Linked DNA regions of Homo sapiens: all the other regions are linked to region 3. Evidence: promoter capture Hi-C in 16 types of primary human blood cells and fetal thymus (Javierre and others, 2016). All regions are on one chromosome and are shown on one strand. The core of a region is centred on a gene start or on the middle of the fragment in contact, and the rest is flanking DNA. Distances in the headings are between cores, read along the strand shown.

Region 1 (2,700 bases), core at 101-2,600, 390 kb after region 3:
TGCCACCACACCCAGCTAATTTTTGTATTTTTAGTAGAGACAGGTTTTCACCATGTTGACCAGGCTGGTCTCGAACTCCTGGCCTCATGTGATCCGCCCGCCTTGGCCTCCCAAAGTGCTGACATTACAGGAGTGAGCCACCGAACCAAGCCCCAGCTATTAGCTTTGAACAAAGACTCATCAGAGGAAAAGCTTGTTTCTTATTTGTCTTATTCATATTTTATCCCTATGCCTGGCACAGTTCCTGGTGCATAATACTTGTTTAATCACATAGGTCAAATGAGTGAGAACAAGCAGACAGGCATCTGACTTTTACAAGACAGTTGACCAAATTAACATAATAATATACAGGGGGAAAGTGATGCTTGATTTCGATGAGAACTAAGATCCAGGAATGCTAACTCAGAAATGAGTTGAAAATTCAAACTTTGAACAGAAGACTACACTTTAGTTTTCTCTTGTAACAATTGTAAACAACTGTAATCAATCTAAAGCTCTGTAAAGCTTTGCTTAGGACTTCCTCAACTGTCCTACAAACACATGCACTGTCCCTGCTGAGGCCGACCTCCGGGGACCTTGTGTCTCCGTCTCACTTGTCAGCGACCCTGTGTTACAGAGACCCTCCTGCCTGACCAATGCAGCCAAGAAATGACTATTTTCAGCCTTCCCTGCCCGACTCCAGGGCCCGGTCAGTCCGAGGACAGAATAGTCATCCTCTCCCTAGGCCAAGCATGTGACCCCAGCCTGAGTGCTTCCCGCCCCAATGAATGAGATAATGAGAGGCCAAATAAGGTTTCAAAACACGCATTGCCTCAGAATTACAGTTTTCCTTAACTGTACTTTTAAATAGCTGGGATTAAGAGCCAAGCACTGCCAAATCGCAGCTTAGCAAGAGAGATCTGTCAACTGTGAGAGATAACAAAAGAAGAAAACCCATTTCAAGCTTTGAACTGCTGTTCCTAAATGATTCCCAGAGAAATACAAATAAATTATATCTTTTGAAGGGCAGATTCATGATGAATGATCTTGTTAGATTGGGGTTCCAAATACTTATTCAAGATACTTCAGAATTTTAAAGGAGCACTTTGGGAGGCTGAGGCAGGCAGATCACTTGAGGTCAGGAGTTCGAGACCAGCCTGGCCAACATGGTGAAACCCCATCTCTACTAAAAATACAAAAATTAGCTGGGCATGGTGGCAGGCACCTTCTCAGGAGGCTGAGGCAAGAGAATCGCTTGACCTCGAGAGGCTGAGGGTGCAGTGAGCTGAAATCATGCCACTGCACTCCAGCCTGGGCAACAGAGCGAGACTCTGTCTCAAAAAAAAAAAAAAAGGTAAAGGGAGCAAGTCTTGACCATGAAAATGACTTCATTTAGAGGATGCTGTCCTCCAATCTGCCCCACTCTCCTCCCCAAAGATCTGTGGTAATTTCTCAGAGATAAGCCTTCAAAGACTCCAGGCAGAGCTAAAGCCCCAACTGGAGATACACAAATCCATTTTATCCACATTGTAAGCAGTCTTCAAAAACAGGAATGTTCAAGCCAGAAACACATTGAATTTGCCTGAGAAAGCTGAGTGGAGAAAGCAATTCTTTCTCCTTTCTACCTCTTTCCAGTTACGTGTGATTGGAGGCCCTTCAGCCAGTGTAATCTTTGCCCAAGCTGCTCCTCTGTGTGGGATGGCAGGGCTAACCTCGCTGCCTGGAGAACTTCAGCTCCACCTACAAGACCTCTGTCCTCAGCCCTTCTTTGAAGCTTCTCCGGTGCCTCCAGGCCCTCTCAGATGTTACAACAAATAACTGAGAAAGAATTTATGGTGGAACTTAGCAAATCAGCAACAATGACAAATCAACAAGAAAAAGACAAACAATCCAATAGAAAAATAGACAAAAACTGGAATCTGCACTTCAAAGAAATACGAAACTCAAATGGCCAATAAATGCCAATATGCTCAACCTCATTAATAATCATGAAAGTACAAGTTAATACCTACTTCATGAGTTAATATCTAATACAGTCGGATCATGCTACATGCCTGACAGATGGAAAAAAATTTACAAGTCTGACAATGCCCAGTGTCAGTGAGAATATGGAGAGAAACGGTCATGTGCTCCTGGTAGGGGTACGCTATCATTTGGGCCTCTGTCCCTCCAAATCTTATGTTGAAATGTGATCCCCAAGGTTGGAAGAAGGGCCTAATGGGAGATGTTTGGTTCATGGGGCAGGTCCCTCATGAATAGATTATTGCCCTCTCTGGGGAAGGGGGTCAGTTCTCACTCTATTAGTTCTCATGATTGCTGGTTGTTAAAAAGGAGCCTGGCACTCGCCGACTCTCCTGCTTCCTGTCTTGCCTTGTGACCTCTGCACATGTTGGTGTCCCTTTGCCTTCTGCCATGAGTAGGAAGTAGCCTGAGGCCCTCATCAGAAGTAAGTGCTGGGGCCACGCCTCTTGTATAGCCGGTAGAACCATGAGCCCAATAAACCTCTTTTCTTTATAAATAACCCAGCCTCAGGTATTCCTTTAAAGCAACACAAAACAGACGAAGATAGGGTCTGAACTGGTCCAACTACTTTGGAAAACAGTCTGCATTACTATGTATATTTGAACAGGTGTGTACTCTAAAACCCAGCAATTGCACCCCTAGATATATATACCCTTAAGGAAATCTTGGACAAGTGCACCAGGAGACTTATATTAAAAT
Region 2 (2,700 bases), core at 180-2,679, 300 kb after region 3:
AGAAATAGGGGTGGTTATTTTTCCAGATTGGAGAGTTGAAAGTCCCTGACTGATTTCAGCCATTTTCCTAGTGCTTGTCGGATGCAGAGACAATGTTGAAATCCCCTAAACACAGTTCTCAGTGGCAAAACCTAGGAAGGCTCATGTTCCCAGAGAAGGGACCACATGAGCCTTCTCCCATGCAAAGCTTCCCCCAGCTTAAATAGTTGATAAGGACTAATTGTTTAATGAGTTTATTTATCTACAGTAGGTTAGGGATCCTGGGTTCTGTTTATATGAAGTTCTTCCCAGTTTGTGAATTCTAGTACAGCAGCCATGCAGCCACCTTATTTCATAGATGCCATCTGTGTGTCCTCTTGACTACCTTCTATTTAGAGGAAGAATGAGAGCTTTGTGTGTTTAACTGAGCTTATAGTAGGACTTCTTTGCATATGTATGGTACTGAAAAATCTTAATATACATCTTTAATCCTTTTTAGGTTGTCCTTTAAAGAGTTTTTGACTAGTTTCTTTTTCTTGACAGCTCTTCTCTTTGGACACATGGGCCTTCTTAGAGGGTTCAGTCTAGGACCCGGCTCTCCTGGCCCTGTGTTGAGGGTAGCTGGTCCCTCTGTCCCTGTGTCTGCTAGCACTAGACTTTGTTGCTGCAGATTGATCCAGTGGGTACATAGGCTAATTAATGTGAGTCTTTTTCCTTGTTTAAAGGAGTCCCTCTTGCTGAAAGTAGATGATTACTATTGCTGTAGTGTTAGGAAAGTATTAAGTTTGTGCTGAAAATCCATTGCCATTTGGTACAAATGACATTTGTTCTTTCTGTGAAAGAGATGCCCTCGAGTGTGTTTGTACACAAACCCTTAGGATGGTGAGTTGAAGCATCACCCTCGCGCTATCTTCAGTGACGGGTGACGGCTCAGGGAGATGGCAGGCAGATTGGGCTCTAAGTCATTATTCTCTCAGTTACTCCATTGGTGAAATGGCCCTTTCCCTCTTTGCAGTTCAGTCTAAGTCTCGTATTTGCTTTGCTGTCTGTGTGCTGAAGCTCGTCCCGTGTGAGTTGCTGTCTGCCCCTTGTCAGGCTGTGAGGTGCTCGTGTAGACCTGGAGCATGCAGGCTGCCTCCGTTTTTGGGTACTGTGTTGTGTTTTGCTCTGTCTAAAAACATCTGCATAGTTTTCAACTGGAAAAAGAAAAAACTTAAAAATGGGATGTCCTAAAATGAAAGCTGCTCAAAGTCACAGAACAACCGAGGGACAAAGGAGATTGGATGACTGGGAAGCGCTGGCCCGGAACAGCCCCTGCAACTGTGGGGCCTGCACACAGCCCTTCCACAGTTGGCACTGCAGGTGCAGGCCAACCCTTTAAAGAATAAACAAGGAAGTCAGCTCTTTCACTTTTTACAAGTTGGCAAAAACAGACTTCCGGGGAATTTCGATGTTTTCCCGTGTTGTAGAGCTTCCAGGGTTTAATAAAACTGGTTAAAAATTGAGTCTTTCCCTGAAGTAAGTGCTCTTTCCAGATGAAAACTACTCTTTTGGTTTTGTTTGAAAGTAAGAAAGGGAGGGGAAACTTTGCTCTTTTAATAATTATGTTCAGCCTATGATGAAGTATTTGATTATTAGACAGCAATGTCACTAATAAGTTTTAAGTTGTCCAAAGTTAATTGTAAACATCATCAGTACAGTACTCTTAGTTACAGTAAAGCAATTGTTGCAAGATGAATGGCTAATATTTTGGTGCAGTGTTTGATGTTCAAAACAAAATGTTACAACAATAAACGAACATAACATAAACTGAATGCATTTGGCTCTTTTCTTCAGGGGACATTGAAACCATCTTTCTAGATTCTTGCCAGAAATTGGTAATTTCCATAAATTAGCATCTTGATCTTTGCTGACACTTAAATTTGTCTACAGCAGGAGCTCCTTTTTGTTGCTTATTCTTAAAACCTGGCTTCAGAAGTGCAGCTACACCCCCAGGAACTAACCTCTTGCTTTGTACCTTCTGCCAGGAAATGACCCATCCATATGTGACTTCTGCTGTGGTCTCACGGCTGTCCAGGAGGCTGTGTTTACCTCCTCTCCCTAAGCACTTGAATTCCCTGGGAGTCCTGTCCAGAGCCCCTGGACACCCCACCTTTCCTTAAACCCTTCCTTAGGGTGGGTATGATTTAGCAGTCAATCCTGATGTTTTCATCACAGAGTCAGAGTGACCTTTGATCAAAACCACATCGCATATATTACTTACATGGTGATGTTTTGTCCTCTCAGATTGCTGGGCCCTTACCAGATGCAGCATATGCTGAACCCTGCATCCCAAAGGCCCTCCACAGGAGCGTGTGTTCAGGATGGAAATGTTTGTTTGCATGACGTGATGGCAACCATGGGTCTTTGGGAATGCAAAAGAAGAGCTCAGGGAAATTGGTTACAAAGGAAATGGTCTTTACCCAGAGCAGCTTTGAGGGCTTCAGGGGAGCAGTGAACTTTGCATACCTGAGCTCTGAGGACGTGCCTGCGTGTGGCTTCTCTCTGTTTTGCCCCGCACCCATTGGAGTTGGCATGTGTCCTTCCATTTTCTTTCCCGTTTATAGGATGGCATAAGGAAAATACACATTTATCTTTAGAAAGGGGCTGTGGTGTGGATTGGATATGTGCAAAGCTGGGTTTCCAAGCTTACAGGCATGAACGAAGTGACTCCAATCACAA
Region 3 (2,700 bases), core at 49-2,548:
GGTGGATTACTCGAGTCCAGGAGTTTGAGACCAGCCTGGGCAACATGGTGAAACTCCATTTCTACCAAGAGTTAAAAAAAAAAATTAGCCGAGTGTGATGGCATGCGCCTGTAGCTACTCGGGAGGCTGAGGTGGGAGGATTGCTTGAGCCTGGGAGGCAGAGGTTGCAGTGAGCCAAGACTGCACCACTGCACTCCAGCCTGGGCAACAGAGTGAGACCCTGTCTCAGAAAGAAAAACAATTTTGATAGACACAGGTGACCTTTATTCAGTTGATGTAATATCACTGTCAGAACATAAGGCCAGTAGATCAAAATACCAACCTGCTGCATACATGTAATCTAACAATGAGCTTTTATATTATTGGTATCAGTAATAACAGCTGATATTTACTGAGTCTATATTATGTGACTGTCACTAGGTCAAGTGCTCTGTCTGCAGTATCACATTTAATCACCACAGCAATCCTATAATTTGGATATGATTATCCCCATTTTATAGACAAAAAACCTGAAGCTTAGGAAGGAGAAATAAATTGCTGGAGATTACATGGCTACTAAGTGCTATCAATATAGTGGGATCTAGATCTGGTCTGAATCCACAACACAGGCTCTCACAACCGGGTTACACCTCCTCTTAATTGGTCACACCATTTAAAGAACAAAGAAAGAGAATCTCTTATTAGATGGACTGACCCTACTCTGAGTTAGGAAAGATAAAACACTGAGTTGCGTCTCAAAAGGCTTTAGTTAATGAACAGGAAATCACATATTCAGGCTTGAAGCTAAGACTTAACCTTGTAAATTTTCCTGAAGTGAGAGAAATAGTGACCGTGATGTCAGGCAAAAATCGCCACCACGTGTAACCCATTTCTTCCTTGTTTTGCCTTTAGTTAGCTTCAAGTTCTTTTTTCACATTGTATCTTTTAAATGTACCGTACGTGTGTTGTTAACAGCACACTCAGAATCATATCTTGGCATTAAAATTCCACGAAGTCCATTTTGAGAATCATATTACTACACCTATTTTTAGCTGTTAACACAAACCACTCTTTCCATTACACTTTTAAATTATCTACTGATAAAGTGACATTGAAAATAACTCTTGTTGCCAAATAAAAACCCTATATTTGGTTTAATCGGGCCAGACCCATTGACCGGCATTATGCAATTATATTACTAAGGCTGCTACCTGCCCATGCCCCTCTCCTCCTCCTGGTTTGGAACTACCCTCCCCATCTGCTGCTATATTTATCTGCCTTCTTGGCCATAAAAGGCTGGTTGTGTGGCCTGACATTCGACTGCCTGACCACATGCATTATTTTTGAACTGGCCCCCAGGGTCCTGTCTTTAGCCCTGCCTCTTAACATTGTCTTGGATTCAACCTAGGTGGAGTCTTCATTCTCTCATCCAGCTCCTCGGCCTCATCGGAACATTTCCACCACCATTACTCCTTTGGAAACTGGTAAGTGTGACACTGAGGCAGAAGAATGCACTTGATAGCTTATGAGCTTAGCAGCAGTGCAGTGTAAGTGCTTTCTTTCTGTCTTCTGAACTCAGCAGTTTTCTCAAAGAGATGTCAGAATAACAGAGAAATAGGAAAGTGAAGCTCCAGGGAGGGAAACCAGAACAGCCGGGTGCCAGTCGGGCTGGCACAGCTCTTCTCTCACATCACTGTATTCTTCTGAAATTAAGCTGCTGTTCCTGGAACTGTAAGGAGGTCATATCTGCCTCGGATTGAACTGTAAGCGTGTGTTTAATGCTATTTCCAAGTACGGTTTGGTTGAAATCTGAAATGGATGAGAGACAGGAGGCCCTGCATTTTCAATCCTGCATGTGCCATACAATGCTCCCTGGTTACAAATTAGACCGAAAGAAGGAAAATTAACTCTGAAGTCACTAGTTTATAATTCAGGGATCTTGCTGTGACGATGCAATGTGGATAAATGTGAGCGCGCACAATGATATGGCCTCAAATGGTTAAGTAATATTTCAGAGGCAACATAGAGCCCCACATAGTGATTTTTCTGGGAATCGTTTTCATCAGCTTCTGCCCTCTAATGCCTGCACAAAAGTATCATAAATTACAGCTATGGAATTTGTATTTCTTCCTAAATTCTCAAATTATTTTCAGAAAGAAAATTTAGGTCTTAAAGAAACAAAAGACACTAAAACCATCTTTCCTCCCAACGTACTCCAGCCGTCATGTGTTGGAGCTAATCCTGGCTTTAGTTAACTTCAAGGGCTTACTTGATGAAGAGGAGGTGGTTGTACCTTTGTTCCAGAGGTCAGGGCTGTGACAATCAGCAATGTGGGCTTCAAGTCAAACCCTGTTTACTTGTAACTTACTATCTATGTGAGAGGAATAGTAAGTATTATTAAAAATAAATGTATTTGGGAGAAATAGAAATAAAGAGAGTAAAAAATAGTATTGGGGCAAGATATTTAAAGATTTTATTTTGTGAAAATAACAGCATTTCAAGTCATCTGGGGAATGAATTTAGTTTATAACATAACAAGTTTCTTTATTATTTATTTGAAAAATCATTCAAATAACATGTGCCATGTTACAATGTAGTATCATAACAGAAACTTCTCTAATATCTTTATAACTGCCTAACGTAATTCTGTATTAACATTTTCTAACCCCTTTGTTTTATCAAAATTCATCTAGTAGTTATTAATTATACATGGTAATTATC
Region 4 (2,700 bases), core at 56-2,555, 270 kb after region 3:
TGCTCAGCAAGGACAACTTGGAAAATGTCAACTTTCCAGCCTTTTTCTCCCTATTCCACATATGACTACATTGACCAGAGTTTATCTTGTGTAGTATGCTTCTCCTTAAAATAAAAAATTGTTAATTTATCCAACAAATGTTGGAATTACTACTCTATGCCACATGCTATGAATACAACATGCCTCTGTTCCTCTAGGGGTTCGTCATTTAGAGTAGGATAAAGATGACCAAAAACCCAGTTTGTTGCCATTTATTTGATTTTTTTCTCTCAGATTTTTCTCATTTAATTATATGTCATCAACATTCTTTTCAAGTCTAGTTCTAAACCTAACTCTGTGCTTTTAATAGCTGCACAGTATTCCATAGTATGGACATACCATAGTTTGTTTAACCATTTTCTTGCTGGTAGGCGTTCAGGTTATCTTCATCCTACAAACATTGCTATAATAGAACTAAGAAATACCACCAGAAACAAAAAGAGCTTTCAGTAAGTAAAATAAAGATCATTGAATTAAAAATCCTCAAAGTCAGAGACCACGACCTCTCATCTGGGTTTCTTTTGGACATTCAGAATATCTTATTACAATTTCTCTGTAAGTGTGTGTTTCTGGTGAACACAGATTTCTCCTAGCTAAATCAAACTTTAGCTTCAGGGTAATATGTTTATCAAAGCTAAGTTCAAAAGCTTAATAAAAAAATAATTACAGAAACCTATACATTTTCAGAACTATTGTTTAAAAGCTTGAGTATTTTAAATTATATGAGGTTAATTTTTTTGTTGTTTGTTTTGAGATGGAGTCTCGCTCTGTTGCCCAGGCTGGAGTGCAGTGGCATGATCTCGGCTCACTACAACCTCCCCCTCAGGTCCAAGCAATTCTTCTGCCTCAGCCTCCTGAGTAGCTGGGATTACAGGCATGCATCACCAGGCCCAGCTAATTTTGTATTTTTAGTAGAGACAGGGTTTCACCATGTTAGCCAGGCTGGTCTCAAACTCCTGACCTCAGGTGATCCGCCTGCCTCTGCCTCCCAAAGTGCTGGGATTGCAGGCGTGAGCCACCACGTTCTGCCTGAAGTTAATTTTTATCTCTATTATGTACCTTCCATTTCCTCTGATGATACAAAAAGGAATGAAACAAATGGCTAAGACATGAATTTACTGAACACCAGACTTGATCGTTTATTTAGTATTAGGAGTTTGACTGCTTCTAAATATTGGGCCTTATTTTCTTCTTTTGAATTCCTACAGGAAGGAATATTTCTTATTTTTAAACATAAATGCTTTATGGTTTAAAAATTTACTAATGTCATTTGTTACACGGTATTGTCTCTAATTGCCTTTCTCCAATTAATTTGGCAAAACATAAGCATTGGCCGCTCTGTATCACTGCATCCTCGCGTCACTCACCTGTCCTGCTGCCCTTTGTCTGATGTAGTGTCCTTAATCTCTGCCTTCTGCTTTTTCCTGTTCTGAATGTTCTGTGTGAGTTCTTGAGAGAGTCCTTTGTAACACCTCCTGAGATTTTTGTTGCTGCTTTGATCTTTGCTTTGTGAAGAATTTAATAGGCTTAGCTTTAATTATGGCTTTGGGGTGTTCCATGCTGACTTGGCATGTCAGTTCCTTCAGATGGACTCAGTTACATGTACCCAAGTGGGCTGGTACTTAGCTGCCTCACAGGGGAAAGACCTCGTCAGAGTATAGTAGGCAGTGCCTTAGTTCAGTGGGACTTTCTTGCCTTTAGGGAATATGTATTTTTTTTTTTTTTACCATGGTGAAAATTTATATATTCAAAATATTACTGCTTTAATTCACTGTCGAGTTTGTCATGGATAACTTTTCTTTCTCCATTCTCCTCAAGGAAAAGCTTCCTGCTTACCTTGCCACCTCACCAATTCCTACTGAAGATCAGTTCTTTAAAGATATTGACACCCCTTTGGTGAAATCGGGTGGAGATGAAACACCATCTCAGAGTTCAGACATCTCACACGTCTTGGAAACAGAGACAATTTTTACTCCAAGTTCTGTGAAAAAGAAAAAACGAAGGAGAAAGAAATACAAACAGGACAGTAAGAAGGAAGAGCAGGCCGCATCTGCTGCTGCAGAAGACACATGTGATGTAGGCGTGAGCTCCGATGATGACAAGGGGGCCCAGGCAGCACGGTAGGACTCTCAGCCTGGGAAGGGTCTTGTGCGGGTACCTAGAGTTCATGTGAAGCCAGGAGCTGCCAGTTTTTTTATGGATACACAGTGTGAGGTTTGGGCTTGTTTTCCCCCTTTACAGTTTATTGTGGAATCAAGCAGCAAAGGCAGTTTCTTTGTTCCTTTCAACTATTCTATAAATATGCTACTGAAATGTCATTTGTAGCAGACTGGTTGTGTTTCTTTTCATAAAGAAGTTTCCAGGAGCCAAATAAGTTCTAAGTCAAAAGATCTGAATTAGTGATTTGCCCCTCGGTGAGCAGATCCAGTTGGACACCATGTCATCTCTGGGATTTCCCTACCCAGTGGCCTTAGGCTTGGTATGTTTTTCCTGAGGAGTTGAGTTTTGTTTTATTGGAATTGAAAAGGAATGATTTTTATTTTTTTACATGAGCAGTCTTGATCGCTGCTTATTTACCTGCTCTGTAGAAGAGCTCATTATATGCCATTTTTCATGTCAGCACCGCTTGGGGTTGAAAGGTAGCAGTTGGGAGTAGAACAC
Region 5 (2,700 bases), core at 33-2,532, 350 kb after region 3:
CCATCCTCCACAAAAAGGGGGGAAAAGCCCAAATTTGATGATGTCCCCAATGAAAGCATTCATGACCCTCCTCTGCATGGATAAGAAAGCCCACACTCCCAACCACAGTGTTCTGGACTGAATTGTGTGCCCCCCAGAAAGATATTTTGGAGTCCCAACCCCCAGTACCGGAAAATGTGACTTTATTTGGAGATAGGGTCTTTACAGAGGTGATCAAGTTAAAACAAGTTAAAACAAAGTCATTAGAGTGGGTACTGATCCAATAGGTCTAGTGTCCTTAGAAACCAGGGAAAATTTAGTTAACAGGTAGCTAAAGAAAAAAAGGGTGGTGGGGGAATTTGGAGACAGAGACAGACACACACAGAAGGGAAGATTATGTGAAGAGACACAGGGAGAAGACGGACATCTACAAGCCATGGAGAGAGGCCTGGAACAGATCCTTCCCTCGAAGCCCTCAGGAGAACCAACCCTGCTGATGTCTTGATCTACGACCCCCTGTGGACACCCACCTCCAGGTCCCTGCTCGTGTGTCTTGGCTTACGCTGACCTTGGCCTTCTCTCACATCTGCATATATTCAACTAGAAGCTTCCTTCAAAGCCATAAGACGTCACCACTTGCAAACAAGTTCTCGGATTCCTCCTGGCTGGAAATAACTTTCTTCTACCTCTGAACACCCCAGCACGTTGTGTTTCTCTTACTACAATTCTCATTCCCACCTTTTATGTCGTAATTATTTATGTTTATCTTTCAATTCACTTGCTAGATGTGCACTTCCAGAAGCCAACAGAAAGATCCTTACTGTATCACTGTAGAAACTAGTTCTGGGCCACATGTAGGCTTTGAACAAAAATATTTGTTTAATGAAACAAATAGTCTTCAAATAATAAGTCTTCTTTCAAGCCTGTTGAGCTTTCTGACAATTCAAAATGGCTTATGCTAATTATGAATCCTTAATCCAACATTTTCCAGGGCTATAAATGTGAAATGTTTTTTACTTCATTATGTTTTTATTTTTATTTACTTATTTCTTTTGAGACAGGGTCTGTCACGTAGGCTGGAGTGCAGTGGCACAATCATAGTTCACTGTAGCCTCAACCTCCCCAGCCCAAGCGATCCTCCCACCTCAGCCTCCTGAGTAGCTGGGACCACAGGCGTGCACCACCACGCCCAGCTAATTTTTGTATTTTTGGTAGAGACTGGGTTTTGCCATGTTGCCCAGGCTGGTCTCTAACACCTGAGCCCAAGTGATCCACCTGCCTCAGCCTCCCAAAGTGTCGTGTTACAGGTGTGAGCCACCATGCCTAGTCCATTATTATCTAGTGTTCTATATCTGTAATGTATTTCCCATATCAGTTGTTCTTCAGAAACTCCGAGAAGTATCCTTACTATCAGTAAAAGTTATTTTGCCCACTCTGTATTTCACCACGTCTTCAGCAACTATACAAATGATGGTACACACACACACACACACACACACACAAACACACACACACACACAGAGGAATCTATCCAACAACAAAAAGTAATCAACTACAGCCAGGTGCAGTGGCACACACCTGGAGTCCTAGCCACTCAGGAGGCTGAGGTGGGAGGATCACTTAAGCCCAGGAGTTCAAAAACCAGTCTGGGCAATATAGTGAGATCCCATCTCAAAAAAAAAAATCAGCTACTGATACATACTACAACATGAATGAATCTCAAAATCTTTCTGTTCAATGAAAGAAGCCAGTCAAAAGAGAGTACAACCTGTATGACTCTATTTACATAAAACTTTAAAATATGCAAACTTATCCCTAGTGAGGGAAAGTGGATCAGCAGTTCCCAGGGAGGGGGTACGTGGAGAGAAACTGGAGGGAGAGATTAGCAAGGGATATGTTGATTGTGATGTTGGTTTCACGGGTATATATGTCAAAATATTAAACTGTACAACTTCAAATATGTGGCTTACTCATGTAAATTATACTTCAATTAAGCTTTTTTTTTTTTAACTATGTAATTTCTGCATTAAGGTATTTTTAAATCTCTTCAAATCTGTGAAAGGGAAGTACCAGAGAAGTCTTTTCTTGACTATGCAATAACATATTTCAATTACATAGAAACTAAAATCAGCATCATTAAGTCTTTGTCAAAGTTTCAGAATGTAGGTTTAACTAGAGTTGGTTTTTTAAAAATGTATCAGATTACTCTTCAGACACATAACCAATTGTTTCTGCCTATAGAGAACTCAGGTCTAATATTTACTTTTGTTCTTTTAAAGGTATTGGATCAATGATTAAGGAAGAAAGCCAAACAGGATTAAAAAAAAAAAAAACTCCCTTCAAACTGACATATTGTGTAAAATAACACAAAACATCACAGATGTATGTTAGCATTTTGAAAATACAACAAGAAAAATGTCCAGGACCAGATGGATTCACAGCTAAATCCTAACAGACATTTAAAGAAGAATTGGTCTCCCTCTCCCTCTCCCTCTCCTCTTTCCACGGTCTCCGTCTGATGCCGAGCCGAAGCTGGACTGTGCTGCTGCCATCTCGGCTCACTGCAGCCTCCCTGCCTGATTCTCCTGCCTCAGCCTGCCGAGTGCCTGCGATTGCAGGCGCGCGCCCCCACGCCTGACTGGTTTTCGTATTTTTTTGGTGGAGACGGGGTTTCGCTGTGTTGGCCGGGCTGGTCTCCAGCTCCTAACCGCGAGTGATCCG

The links. Contacts are between HindIII fragments. The CHiCAGO score rates a contact against its expected background, and 5 or more counts as called.
Region 1: a contact is called between a fragment that was not itself captured here and the fragment with the promoter of MYOM1 in region 3, in 1 of 17 cell types (activated CD4 T cells). The highest score is 5.8, in activated CD4 T cells.
Region 2: a contact is called between a fragment that was not itself captured here and the fragment with the promoter of MYOM1 in region 3, in 13 of 17 cell types (naive CD4 T cells, naive CD8 T cells, activated CD4 T cells and 10 more). The highest score is 8.4, in naive CD4 T cells.
Region 4: a contact is called between a fragment that was not itself captured here and the fragment with the promoter of MYOM1 in region 3, in 1 of 17 cell types (megakaryocytes). The highest score is 5.9, in megakaryocytes.
Region 5: a contact is called between a fragment that was not itself captured here and the fragment with the promoter of MYOM1 in region 3, in 10 of 17 cell types (activated CD4 T cells, non-activated CD4 T cells, naive CD4 T cells and 7 more). The highest score is 8.7, in activated CD4 T cells.

The regions. Positions count from the first base shown.
Region 1 is chr18:2,824,803-2,827,502 of GRCh38, reverse strand. No RefSeq gene overlaps it. Among named protein-coding and RNA genes, the nearest start is that of EMILIN2, 21 kb to the left of the region's middle. The HindIII fragment of the contact is 810 bases long and covers 946-1,755 here.
Region 2 is chr18:2,916,087-2,918,786 of GRCh38, reverse strand. It overlaps LPIN2 (lipin 2), which reads left to right. Exons shown (of 20, transcript NM_001375808.2): 20 at 1-1,788. Among named protein-coding and RNA genes, the nearest start is that of LPIN2-AS2, 50 kb to the left of the region's middle. The HindIII fragment of the contact is 2,479 bases long and covers 190-2,668 here.
Region 3 is chr18:3,218,566-3,221,265 of GRCh38, reverse strand. It overlaps MYOM1 (myomesin 1), which reads left to right and starts at 1,298. Exons shown (of 38, transcript NM_003803.4): 1 at 1,298-1,463. The HindIII fragment of the contact is 10,525 bases long and covers 518-2,700 here.
Region 4 is chr18:2,950,514-2,953,213 of GRCh38, reverse strand. It overlaps LPIN2 (lipin 2), which reads left to right. Exons shown (of 20, transcript NM_001375808.2): 4 at 1,858-2,159. Among named protein-coding and RNA genes, the nearest start is that of LPIN2-AS2, 15 kb to the left of the region's middle. The HindIII fragment of the contact is 1,121 bases long and covers 745-1,865 here.
Region 5 is chr18:2,868,568-2,871,267 of GRCh38, reverse strand. The region is part of intron 2 of EMILIN2 (elastin microfibril interfacer 2); the gene reads right to left. Among named protein-coding and RNA genes, the nearest start is that of EMILIN2, 23 kb to the right of the region's middle. The HindIII fragment of the contact is 1,388 bases long and covers 589-1,976 here.